Linked DNA regions of Homo sapiens: region 2 is linked to region 1. The links are contacts of gene promoters, found by promoter capture Hi-C in blood cells and fetal thymus (Javierre and others, 2016). All regions are on one chromosome and are shown on one strand. The core of a region is centred on a gene start or on the middle of the fragment in contact, and the rest is flanking DNA. Distances in the headings are between cores, read along the strand shown. Region 1 holds the start of ACY1 (aminoacylase 1). Region 2 overlaps DNAH1 (dynein axonemal heavy chain 1).

Region 1 (5,348 bases), core at 1,713-4,212:
AGGGCAAAGCCTGCCCTCAGGGCGTGGAACTCAGGCCGCTGCACGAACAGCTCCATGCCTTGGTGACCCCCAACCTCCTCATCTGTAAAAGCAGCAGGGACGTGAGATGAGGAGGCTGCCCCGCCCCACCCTCCCCTTTCCCAAAGGTATCTGAGCCACTCCTACCAGGCACAAAGGTCATGTGGATGGTTCTGGGGAACCGGTGGCCCTCCACCTTCAGCCTCCTCACAGCTTCCAGGTACCTGAGGGGGCATAAGCCAGGTGCTGGGGGAGCCACCAGATGCGCAGGCTGGCCCCACAGGCAGGGCCAGCAGGCTGGAGTCCTGTGTCCTGGACTTTACCCTGCCACACCCTGATAGGGACTCCAGAAAGTCCCTGCCCCTCTCTGGTCTGAATCTCCCTATCCATGCAATGGTCATGGCAGTAGTTCCTGTCCAAGAGGTCACGGTGTTCCTTGGCCTTGAGTTTCTCCAATCACCCCCTCAGGTCCTGCTTCAATCCACTGGACCAGTGGGGACATTGTGGAGGAGTAGGAATGGAGGACACTCACTGGATGCTGACGCACTTCATGTCCTGGGCACCCCTGGCATAGATGTAGCCCTCAGAATCCTTGAAGGCCTCAAAGGGGTCGTGACTCCAATGTTCCTGGGGGCAGGGATGGGAAGAGGGGCCCAAACCCCAAATTTAGCCATTAATCCACTCTGGTCAACAGTGGCCCTGCCCTAGGAGCCCACCATAGGGTTGGAGTGACAGGTGGAGTGGTGGGAGAGGAAAGACGGGGGCTGAAGAAGGCAGCTGATTGCCATCCCCCATTGCTGTCTCCTGCTTCCCACCCCCCAGTCCCCACCCCACTCTGGCCCAGAACTTGCTGCTGGATGAAGGCTGCTTGAGTGGTGTAATGTCATAAGGATGTTGAGAGTTAGTGTCAGGACTGGGGCCAGGACCATGAGCAACTTGAGGTTGAATCCTGGGGTCTGCATCATGTCTGTCCCCAAGGCCTGCACTGCCCACCTCCCCAGCCCCTTACACACCTTGAAGACAGGCACCACATCCGTGTGGGAGTTGAGCAAGATGGAGGAGAGTGTAGGGTTGGTGCCTGGCCAGGTCAACACGGTCACCACATAGCCAGGTGCCACCTGGAGATGGTCAGGAGGGTAGGTGGTCTGAGCAGGGTGAGGAAGTGCCCAGGCCCACCTCCCTTCCCCGCTTAGGGCCCCAGGCTCACCTCTACTTTCTGACAGCCCAGGCCCAGCTGGCGGGCTGTCTCCTCAAAGAAAGCCACAGCAGCTCCTGGAGGCACAGAGTGTCTTGGGGCTGCTTCTGCCTACCCACAGCTTCCCACCAGCCCAGGCAGCCCGGAGAGTGGAGCATACCCAGAAATGGGCTGCTGCCTCCCCGACACACTCCATATCCCTCAGAGATGCTTGCATTTCCATCCCCAAGAAAGAAGATATTTTTGGCTACTCAGTGACCCTTTCTGGAAGTCCAGGGGGATGTCTGGACACAGGGTTGGAGGAAGGTGTTATCTTCCTTAAATATGGGAAACTATGGCACAGAGACATGAAGAGATTCACCCACCATCTCTCAGCTGATTAATCACAGAGGAGGAATTTGGACCCATGTACACAATTCCCAGCCACTAAGTTTTTTTTTTTTCTTTTCCTTTTTTTTTTTTTTTTTTTGAGACAGGGTCTCACTCTGTCACCAAGGCAGGAGTGAAGTGGTGCGATCTCGGCTCACTGCAGCCTCAACCTCCCAGGCTCAAGCGATCCTCCCACCTCAACCTCTGGAGTAGCTGGGACTACAGGTGTGCCACCATTCCTGACTAATTTTTGTATTTTTTCTGTAGAGACAGAGTCTTGCCATGTTGCTCAAGCTAGTCTTGAACTCCTGGGCCCAAGCAATCTGCCAGCCTCAACCTCCTGAAGTGCTGGGATAACAGGCAGGAGCCACCTCCCAGGCCCTAGCCACCAAGCTTGACTCCCTAAGGGCTGTGGCCTTTGTCCAGCCCCAGTGGGCTTCTGGAGGGCCTCTCCTTTCCCTGTGGCTGCCTCAGGCTTCCCCCACCACTCCTGCCCTGGAGAGTGAGGTGAAGTTTTTCTTTAACCAGCTGCCAGGAGTAACCTTGGTCAGCAGCAGAGTCTCTGGGGAAAGGGTTCCTCCCTAACCTGGAGGGGCTGCCTCAGTCTATTTACTTGGGGAATGGCTGGAGGGGTTGGGGAGCCATTTGGGACAGCAGAGTGGGGCTCAGCTGGGTGACAGGGGTTGGAGGCTGGTTTAGAGCACAGTCCCCGTCCCTTAGGCCCCGTCACAGGCTCTGGAACCACCGTCTTCTCACCATAGTCAGGCTTGGGCTGGACAGTGCGGATACGCAGGTACTGGCGGAAGAGCGTCACCGATGGGTGCTCCTCCTCGGGACCCTTGCTGGTCATGGCGCTGCGCGTGGTGAGCTGGGGGCAAAGTGAATGGCTAACTACCCCTCCAAGACCCTGGAAATGGTGAGCTCCTGCACACAGCCTGTCCCCACGGCGGCTCCCGGACTTCCCACAGGGGTAGGATACCGTGTTTCGGAGCCCCCATTAAGGAGCACCCATTCTGTTTCAGGCGCTGGGCTGTCTGCTTCCAGCACATTTCCTTATTTAATCCCCAAAAGAGCCCCATGAAGTTTGTGCTCAGAATGCCCACTTTACAGAGGAGAAAGCTGAGAGGCTCAGAGAGGTTCAAGGACAGCTCATAGAGTAGCTGAGCAAGGTTTGAACCCAGACTTGTACTCCCCCCGCCCTCCTAAAAAAAAAAAAAGGCAAAAACAAAAACAAAAAACAAACAAGAAAAACCCCAACGCCTCCCAGTTGCCCGGCTTTCAAGCCACGGAGCCCCAGTCCCTCTATCCCTCCCCAGGGCCCCCACCTCACTCTCCTGTCGCTGGGCTCACGCTCGCCTCTCAGCGCCCTTCCCTGACTGTGGCCTGGACTTAGGGTCCAGCGAGGTCGCCTGCGAGGTCGCAGGCTCAGGACCGCCCCGGTCCGCCCACCACGTGGCCGAGGCCGGATGTCGGGGCGGAGACCGAAGACCGTCAGTGAGGGCCGTCCCGGCGCCAGCGGCCGCGTCGGCGCGGATGTCCCCGCCCGCCTCTGGTTCGGGCCTCAGCGAGATTACTGGAGGATTAGATCCGGATCCCGTCCCCGGGCAGCGGCCGCCGCGGCCAGCGCCGCCCCGCGAGTTGCGAGCTCCGGGCTGGCCCTGCTCTGACAGGCTCGCCCCGCCCCACACGACACGCCTGCCACTCCTGCCCCCAGGTATGCGCCGGGAGCTCAGGACGGTCCCGTCCCCTAAGGGCGCCTCCTCCTTCAGCCCCCGGATAGGGCGGGAGGAAAGGGGGCCGCCCCGAGGCTCTCAAGATGCAGAGCTGCAAAGCCCTGGGCCTGCGCCCTCGCCCTCCTCGGCAAGTCTCCAACGGCTCCCCACTGCAGGCCTCAGCCCCTCGGGGAGGTCCTCCCTGACGCCTCAGCTCCACTTGTACTGAAGTTATTGGCCAATGTCTGTCTGCCCACACTGAACTCCAGGAGGCTGTGAGCTCCACTTCCTGCAAGGTTCTGCCCGGGGCCGTGCCGAGCCCGGACAGTGCCTAGAATGGGAATGAATGCATGGACAAGAGCACGTGTGACGGTTTAAGCGTGCCACTGCGTGTGCAGTCTATCAGTGGATATGATTGTGTATGTGACAGTGTGAGATGGTGGGTGGGTGTGATGAAGTCACTGTGAATGGATGTAATTGTGACCCTGGATGGACAGTGTGAGGAAACTGGCTCTTCTGCAGCCACCAGAGGGGGAGGCTAAACAGGCACAGGTGTACCACTGGCCCCCTGCAGGCCACAGCTGCAGTTGCCCACTTGTGCCCCAGCTGCCCTTTGTACTCCCAGCCAGGTCTGCCCTCTGCTCCAGGGGCTGAGTCAGCTTGGGGAAGGGTGAGGGACAAAGACTTCAATCTCTAGGCCAAGGAGGCACGCTGTGGGAAGGGTTCTGTCCCACCTTTCCTGAGGTTTAAGTCTTGGCTGCTCACACATAACATGGGGGCAAATGGACTTTAACTCATAACAATGCTGGATAATTCTTTATTTAGTTATTTTTTTGATACAGAGTCTCACTCTGTCATGCGGGCAAATAGATTTTAACTCACAACAATGCTGGCTAATTATTTACCTATTTATTCATGCGGGCAAATAGACTTTAACTCATAACAATGCTGGCTAATTATTTAGCTATTTATTTTTTTGAGATGGAGTCTCACTCTGCTGCCCAGGCTGGAGTGCAGTGGCTCCTTCTCGGCTCGCTGAAAACTCCGCCTCCTGGGTTCAAGTGATTCTCCTGCCTCAGCCTCCAGAGTAGCTGGGATTACAGGTGCGTGCCACCACGCTGGGCTAATTTTTGTATTTTTAGTAGAGACAGGGTTTGTCATGTTGGCCAGGGTGGTCTTGAACTCCTGACCTCAGGTGATCCACCCGCCTTGGCCTCCCAAGGTGCTGGGATTACAGATGTGAGCCACAGTGCCCAGCTAATGCTGGTTTTTTTTTTTTTTTTTTTTTTTTTTTTTTTTTTTTTTTTTGAGACGGAGTCTCACTCGCTTTGTCACCCAGGGTGGAGTGCAGTGGTGTGATCTCGGTCTTGGCTCACTGCAAGCTCCGCCTCCCGGGTTCACACCATTCTCCTGCCTCAGCCTACTGAGTAGCTGGGACTAAAGTCACCCGCCACCACGCTCGGCTAATTTTTTGTATTTTTAGTAGAGACGGGTTTTCACCGTGTTAGTCAGGATGGTCTCGATCTCCTGACCTCGTGATCCGCCTGCCTCGGCCTCCCAAAGTGCTGGGATTACAGGTGTGAGCCACTGCGCCCGGCCAATGCTGGCTAATTGTTAAATCGCGTTCCCCATACCCTCTAGGTTCCTGACTTCCTTGGCTTGGCTGTCCAGACCCTGGATTTCCCACCAATCCCTGTGGTCATGCAGCAGCAGTAATACACCCCGCCTCCCACCAGCAATTCCCCAGCCTTATGTGGCCAAGTACTCAGTTATCCAGACTCATTCAGTCCTATAACCACCCTCCAACCTAGGTGTTGCCATCATACCCGTTTTACAGATAAGGAAACTCAGGCACAGAGTGGTGAGGCCAGGCACTTAGGAAGTGGCGCATTCTTAGCCTTCTCAGACTGCTGGACATCCCCTCCAGCTCCCAGGCCCAAAGTAGTCCCAGACTTGCCTCCCACTCCCGTCTTTCCCACAGCACACCAGGAAACGGAACCTGTCACTTCCCAGGCAGGACAAATATGCTTTTTTATTGTGTCTGTGAGATGAAA
Region 2 (5,348 bases), core at 491-2,990, 360 kb before region 1:
TGGGCCTGGAAGCCTCAGAGAGCTGCCACTCACAGCCTGCACCTCCCCTGCAGCACCCCCGCCTGCTGCCCCATGGTGCAGTGGAAGATGCCTGCCACTGAGCTCCTTTGCTTTCACTGGGCAATCATGGCAGCGCCTGGAAGGTGCTGAGAACTCAGGATGTGCCCATGACTGGGCCTGAGGGTGGGTGACCCCTGCACTTCACTTTGAAACTGGGCTCCGAGATCGGAAATCAGCAGACCTGGGGTGAGCGTGCACACCATCTCCCCCGTCCTCACATAGGCAGACCCCTTGGAGGCCATTTCACTCACTCACTCACTCGCTCACTCACTCCTCAGCACACGTTGCCTATGCCGCTGTGTTCCGGCACCTGGCTTGCTCAGGCCTCATCTGAGCCAGCTGGCATCTCTGTCCTTTGCGGACAGGCCTTTCTGTTCCTTGAGTTGGTCTCTGCCATCGATCTCTCCCTCCCTCCCACCTCTGCCACATCTGAATAGTCCCTTTAGCCCTGGTAATGGCACCACAAGGGAATCTCAGTTTCCTGCAGCCCACACTTGCACCAGAGCTGCGGGATGTTGGAGAACTTCGTAGGCAGGGGACTGGTCTCACCTTCAACACACCCTCAACCTGGCCTAGAAATCTACTCACTCCCTCGGAACCTGGAAAAGACTCTCTCTCACCTTCTCTGCCAACTCACAGACACACCCTCCCTCACTGGGTGAAGTCCCTCGAATTTCATCCGGAACTCAGAAGCCATTGGACAGAAATGACCCCATCTTCACACCCCGGAATCTCCCTGCCTTCTGCCAGGGTAGAAGGCATGCCCTGCTCTCAGGAAAAGCCCAGCAAGCTCAGCCACCTCAGTCTCTTTGCCTTCCCTCCCACGCCCTCCCAGGGGTCCCCACACACTCTGGTATGTCCCACATTAGAAGCCGCCCCTTGACTTCCTTCCCTCCTTTGACTTTATCTCTTTGTGTTTCTTTATGAAAAACTGGTGTGCTCACTTCTTCCCATCCTCATCTCTTCCCTCGCTACCCCTGAGGCCACTCCAGGCTCTGCCTCATCTCACTGGACTCTCAGAGACTTGGCACAGTGGCTCCCTCCTATTCTGCTGCACCGCTGTCCTCACGGAGCTTCTGGGACACCCTTCCCCTGGATCTTCCTCACCTCCCTGACTTCTAAACGTTGGCCTGTGCCAGGGGTCCTGAGACCCCTCGTCTTCCCCAGCTATACCTCCCACCAGGTGAGCTCCTCCAGCCTCGGACTCTGAACACCACCTGTTCTATTCAGCCAGAACCCTCACACCTATCTGCAGTTCTCTCCCTTCATTTATCCACCAGCCCACTCAACACTGACACTGGATGCCTTACAACGTGTCAGAACCAGCATGTCAGAAGGCAAGCTCTTCATTTCTCTCCATCCCCTGTTCCTCGCTTGCCCCCTATCCCCACTAGCCTCCTTGTCTCTGAACAGCATTGCACACACCCTACTGACCAAAGCCCTACGGAGGGGTCCCTGGTCTCTTCCTGCTACTGGATGTGCAACACCATGACTGGGCCTGAGGGTGGGTGACCCCTGCACCTGATCCTGAAACTGGGCTTTGAGATTGGAAATCCCCAGACCTGGGGTGAGCTTGCATTTAGTCCATTAGCAGCTCTCATTGGCTCCACCGCTGAGGAAACCTCAAATATATCTCTTTCTCCCGTGCTGCTCAGCTACTATTCTGGTTCAAGCCACCATCATGATCTCTGGCCCTGATTATGGCATTAGTCTCCTCATTGATCTCCCTGCTTCCACTCTTGCCCCCTTACAACTCATTCTCTACTTGAGTTGGAAAAAATATATTTTAAACATGTAAACGATCAAGCCACTCCTCTGCTCACCACCACCCATGGCCTGCACAGACTGTCGGCCTGTGGCCGCGTCTCTGCCCCTGCATGTGGTCCAGCCTCCCAGACCAACATCTCTCTCTGCATCCCAACCACAGTAACCCTGCCCTGCTCCTCAAGTACCACAAACTTGTCCCTACCTCAGCCTCTGCACTGCTGCTCCTTCTGCCAGAATCCTCTTCTTCCCTTACTTTAGACCTCAACTCAAATGTTATCACCACTGTGAGAAAGGCTTTCCCTGACCGCCTAATATAAAGAAGCCCTTCTGAGACATCTCTATTCCCTTCTCTCGCTTGGTCTTCACAGCACTTATCAGAACCCTAAAAACCCAGATTTTTCATTGTCTGTCTTTCTGGCCAGGCTGAGAGTCCCCAGGGTGCAGGCTCTTTGTTGGAAATGTTCACTCCTCTGTACCCAGTGTCTGGCACAAGATGGGTACTTCCACACATGGCTGCTTGCTGGCCTGACATCCACTCCCTCCCTTCTTCCTCAGTTTTGTTCCAGAATTCCATCCTTCCTCACTTGACTCAGGGGAAGATGACTACAGCCCCAGCTACAGGGGTACATCTCAGCTAGTCCAAGCCAGTCGTGGTGGAGCTTGCCCCAACTGCAGTTGGTTTAGGTGTGGGAACACGTCCCAGTTATGATCAACCACTGATGCAGATATATAAAAGTCAAGCCCTTTGCAGTGAGCTAAGATTGCTCCACTGCACTCTAGCCTGGGGGACAGAGCAAGACCCTGTCTCAAAAAAAAAAAAAAAAAAAAAAAAGTCAAAGTCAAGCCCTCTTGTTCTGGCTCCCTCCAGGACAAATACGGTGGTGCCATGCTTGCTCTAGAGTTTCCCACAGGATCAGGCTGAGACTAGACTTCTAAAACCATATTTTACCAGCTGCTTCTTCTATTATACCCTGCTTCCTTCACTTCCTTATAGATTTCTCCTGAGAGGATTTCATAAATCGCTTGCACAAGAGTCCCCACATCAGGGTCTGCTTCTACGGAACCCAATCTAAGACAACCTTTGTTGTGGTCATGAAACTGCTGCTGCCATCTCGCCTGAAGATGAAGCCAGCATACACTGCAGACAGGGCCCTGATGCACCAACCCTGGGGCGTCCTGCATTGGTTTTCCTGCTACAGGTACAGGAATGCACTTCCCTGCTGTCTAAGACAATCTGAGACCAGCATCTTTGATACTTAAAGCCAAAAACATTATAAATTGAATAAAATTCAAGAAACAGACTTCTGGACAGCCAAGGTAAGGTGGCTATATCGATTCAAATTTCCCAACACATCCTAGGAAGGAAGGAAGGAAGGAAGGAAGGGAGGGAGGAAGGAAGGAAGGAAGAAAAAACTAACACTACCAAAACCCACACCTTTAGCACAACTAGAATCAGCAGAATGCCTAGACTTCAAATTATCTGTAAATTAAAAAAAAAAAATCTATCTCCAGTGAGCTGTCTCTCACACTCTTGCTGCAAGTTTTCACAGAGAACAAGGGCAGTCTAAGAAAAACTGCAGAAAAGGGAAATAGTGGTAACCCTAAGATAGATCTAAAATCCTACCAGAGGCCGGGCACAGTGGCTCATGCCTGTAATCCCAGCACTTTGGGAGGCCGAGGTGGGTGGATCACCTGAGGTCAGGAGTTCAAGACCAGCCTGGCCAACATGGTGAAGCCCCGTCTCTACTAAAAATACAAAAATTAGCTAGGCGTGGTGGTAACCACCTGTAGTCCCAGCTACTCGGGAGGCTGAGGCAGGAGAATCATTTCAACACAGAGGGCAGAGGTTGCAGTAAGCTGAGATCACACCACTGCTCTCCAGACTGAGTGACAGAGCAAGACTTCATCTCAAAAAATAAATATAAATAAATAAATAAATAAATAAATAAATAAAATCCTACCAGAAAGAGAAAGTAACCCAGGCTGGGCGCAGTGGCTAATGCCTATAATCCCAGAACTTTGGGAGGCCAATGTGGGTGGATGAATTGAGCCCAGGAATTCGAGACCAGCCTGGGCAACAAAGTGAGACCCCCATCTCTACAAAAAATAAAAAAATAGCGGGTGTGGTGGCACATGCCTGTAGTCCCAGCTACCAGGGAGGCTGAGGCAGGAGGATTACTTGAGCCCAAGAGTTTGAGGCTGCAGTTAGCTGTGATTATGCCACGGCACTCCAGCCTGGGTGAAAGTGAGACCGTATCTCAAAAAAAGAGAAAGTAACCCTAACTGTAAAAATACTGAAAAAAAGCCCTGGTAAATCAGAGCACTTACTACAAGGAAGGGACTTAAGGGCATGCAATTCAAAGGCAGTGTTCTTTGAAAGGCATATGACTTATGGGACAGGAGGCAGAAGGAAAGGGGTCATTTGTAGACTGGAGGATAAGGGAAAAGAAGCAAAAGTGAAATGTTGAGTTCTGCAAGATAAGAGGACAAAAACCTTGGAGGACCCACATCCCTCTCCCCAGCACGTGTGTACACACACACACACACACACACACACAGACACACACACAGAGCACATTCTAAAAACAAACAAACAAAAAAAACTAATGTGCAATACTGACAGAAGAGGGCGCCCTTGAACTAGAAAGCTTGCAAATCACTCCAAATCCTGAAATGAATAGGTGAACACCGTCTACATTTGCTTCTATAAGAAAAAGAGAGCATCTTTTAGCTTTGTTTGCACATTTGAGAAGACAAGAGCATCTTAACTGATAAAATTCCCATCACCCCTAAAAAAATAAACAAGTACCAAGCAGAAGAAAACTGTAACACAATACTTCAGCTAAATAGCCTTAAACGAGTGTTTGGGCATCTGAAAAACCACCTTGAATCAGAAATTCAAAAATAAAACATATAAATGGACAAATGTCGGTAAGAAAAGAGACTTAATTAAGCTCAAGGAAAAAATGGAAAATAAAAGTATCACGGGGAGGAAGCTGAAATTACAAGGTGACCGAGAGAAAACAGAGTCAAATCAAAGCATAATGAAGTAAATTGAAGAAAGGCAGGATATAACCAAGAGAATAAAAATGAGAGAAAATAAAGGAAGTAAAAGAAAGAAAATAAAATTTTAAAAAATAAAATTAGAAAAAACTAAAAAGGGTCGGAAACTGGTTGAATTAAAAGATACGCAAAGCAGCAGCAATATATAAAAAGATACATAGATACATAGAGATATAGATACATAATGGAATCCTTGATGAAGAAAAACAAAAGAATGGAACAGAACCAAGATTTAAAACTATAATTCAAGGGAATTTTTTTTTTTTTAGACGGAGTCTGGCTCTGTCACCCAGGCTGGAGTGCAGTGGCACAAACTCAGCTAACTGCAAGCTCTGCCTCCTAGGTTCAAGCAATTCTCCTGCCTCAGCCTCCCAAGTAGCTGGGATTACAGGCACCTGCCACCACATCTGGCTTTTTTTTTTTTTTTTGTATTTTTAGTAGAGATGGGGTTTCACCAT

What was found. The method cuts DNA at HindIII sites, captures the fragments that hold promoters and counts their contacts. A CHiCAGO score of 5 or more calls a contact.
Region 2: a contact is called between a fragment that was not itself captured here and the fragment with the promoter of ACY1 in region 1, in 4 of 17 cell types (M2 macrophages, naive CD8 T cells, naive CD4 T cells and 1 more). The highest score is 9.0, in M2 macrophages.

What each region holds. Positions count from the first base shown.
Region 1 is chr3:51,981,149-51,986,496 of GRCh38, reverse strand. It overlaps ACY1 (aminoacylase 1), which reads right to left and starts at 2,962. Exons shown (of 15, transcript NM_000666.3): 1 at 2,908-2,962; 2 at 2,339-2,450; 3 at 1,226-1,290; 4 at 1,032-1,136; 5 at 551-645; 6 at 166-242; 7 at 1-82. The coding sequence starts at 2,432. It overlaps ABHD14A-ACY1 (ABHD14A-ACY1 readthrough), which reads right to left. Exons shown (of 17, transcript NM_001316331.2): 4 at 2,339-2,450; 5 at 1,226-1,290; 6 at 1,032-1,136; 7 at 551-645; 8 at 166-242; 9 at 1-82. It overlaps ABHD14A (abhydrolase domain containing 14A), which reads right to left. Exons shown (of 5, transcript NM_015407.5): 5 at 5,301-5,348. RefSeq lists a silencer at 2,928-3,377 and an enhancer at 4,831-5,332. The HindIII fragment of the contact is 7,715 bases long and covers 1,978-5,348 here.
Region 2 is chr3:52,338,842-52,344,189 of GRCh38, reverse strand. The region is part of intron 8 of DNAH1 (dynein axonemal heavy chain 1); the gene reads right to left. Among named protein-coding and RNA genes, the nearest start is that of DNAH1, 25 kb to the right of the region's middle. RefSeq lists an enhancer at 136-637. The HindIII fragment of the contact is 5,475 bases long and covers 1-4,477 here.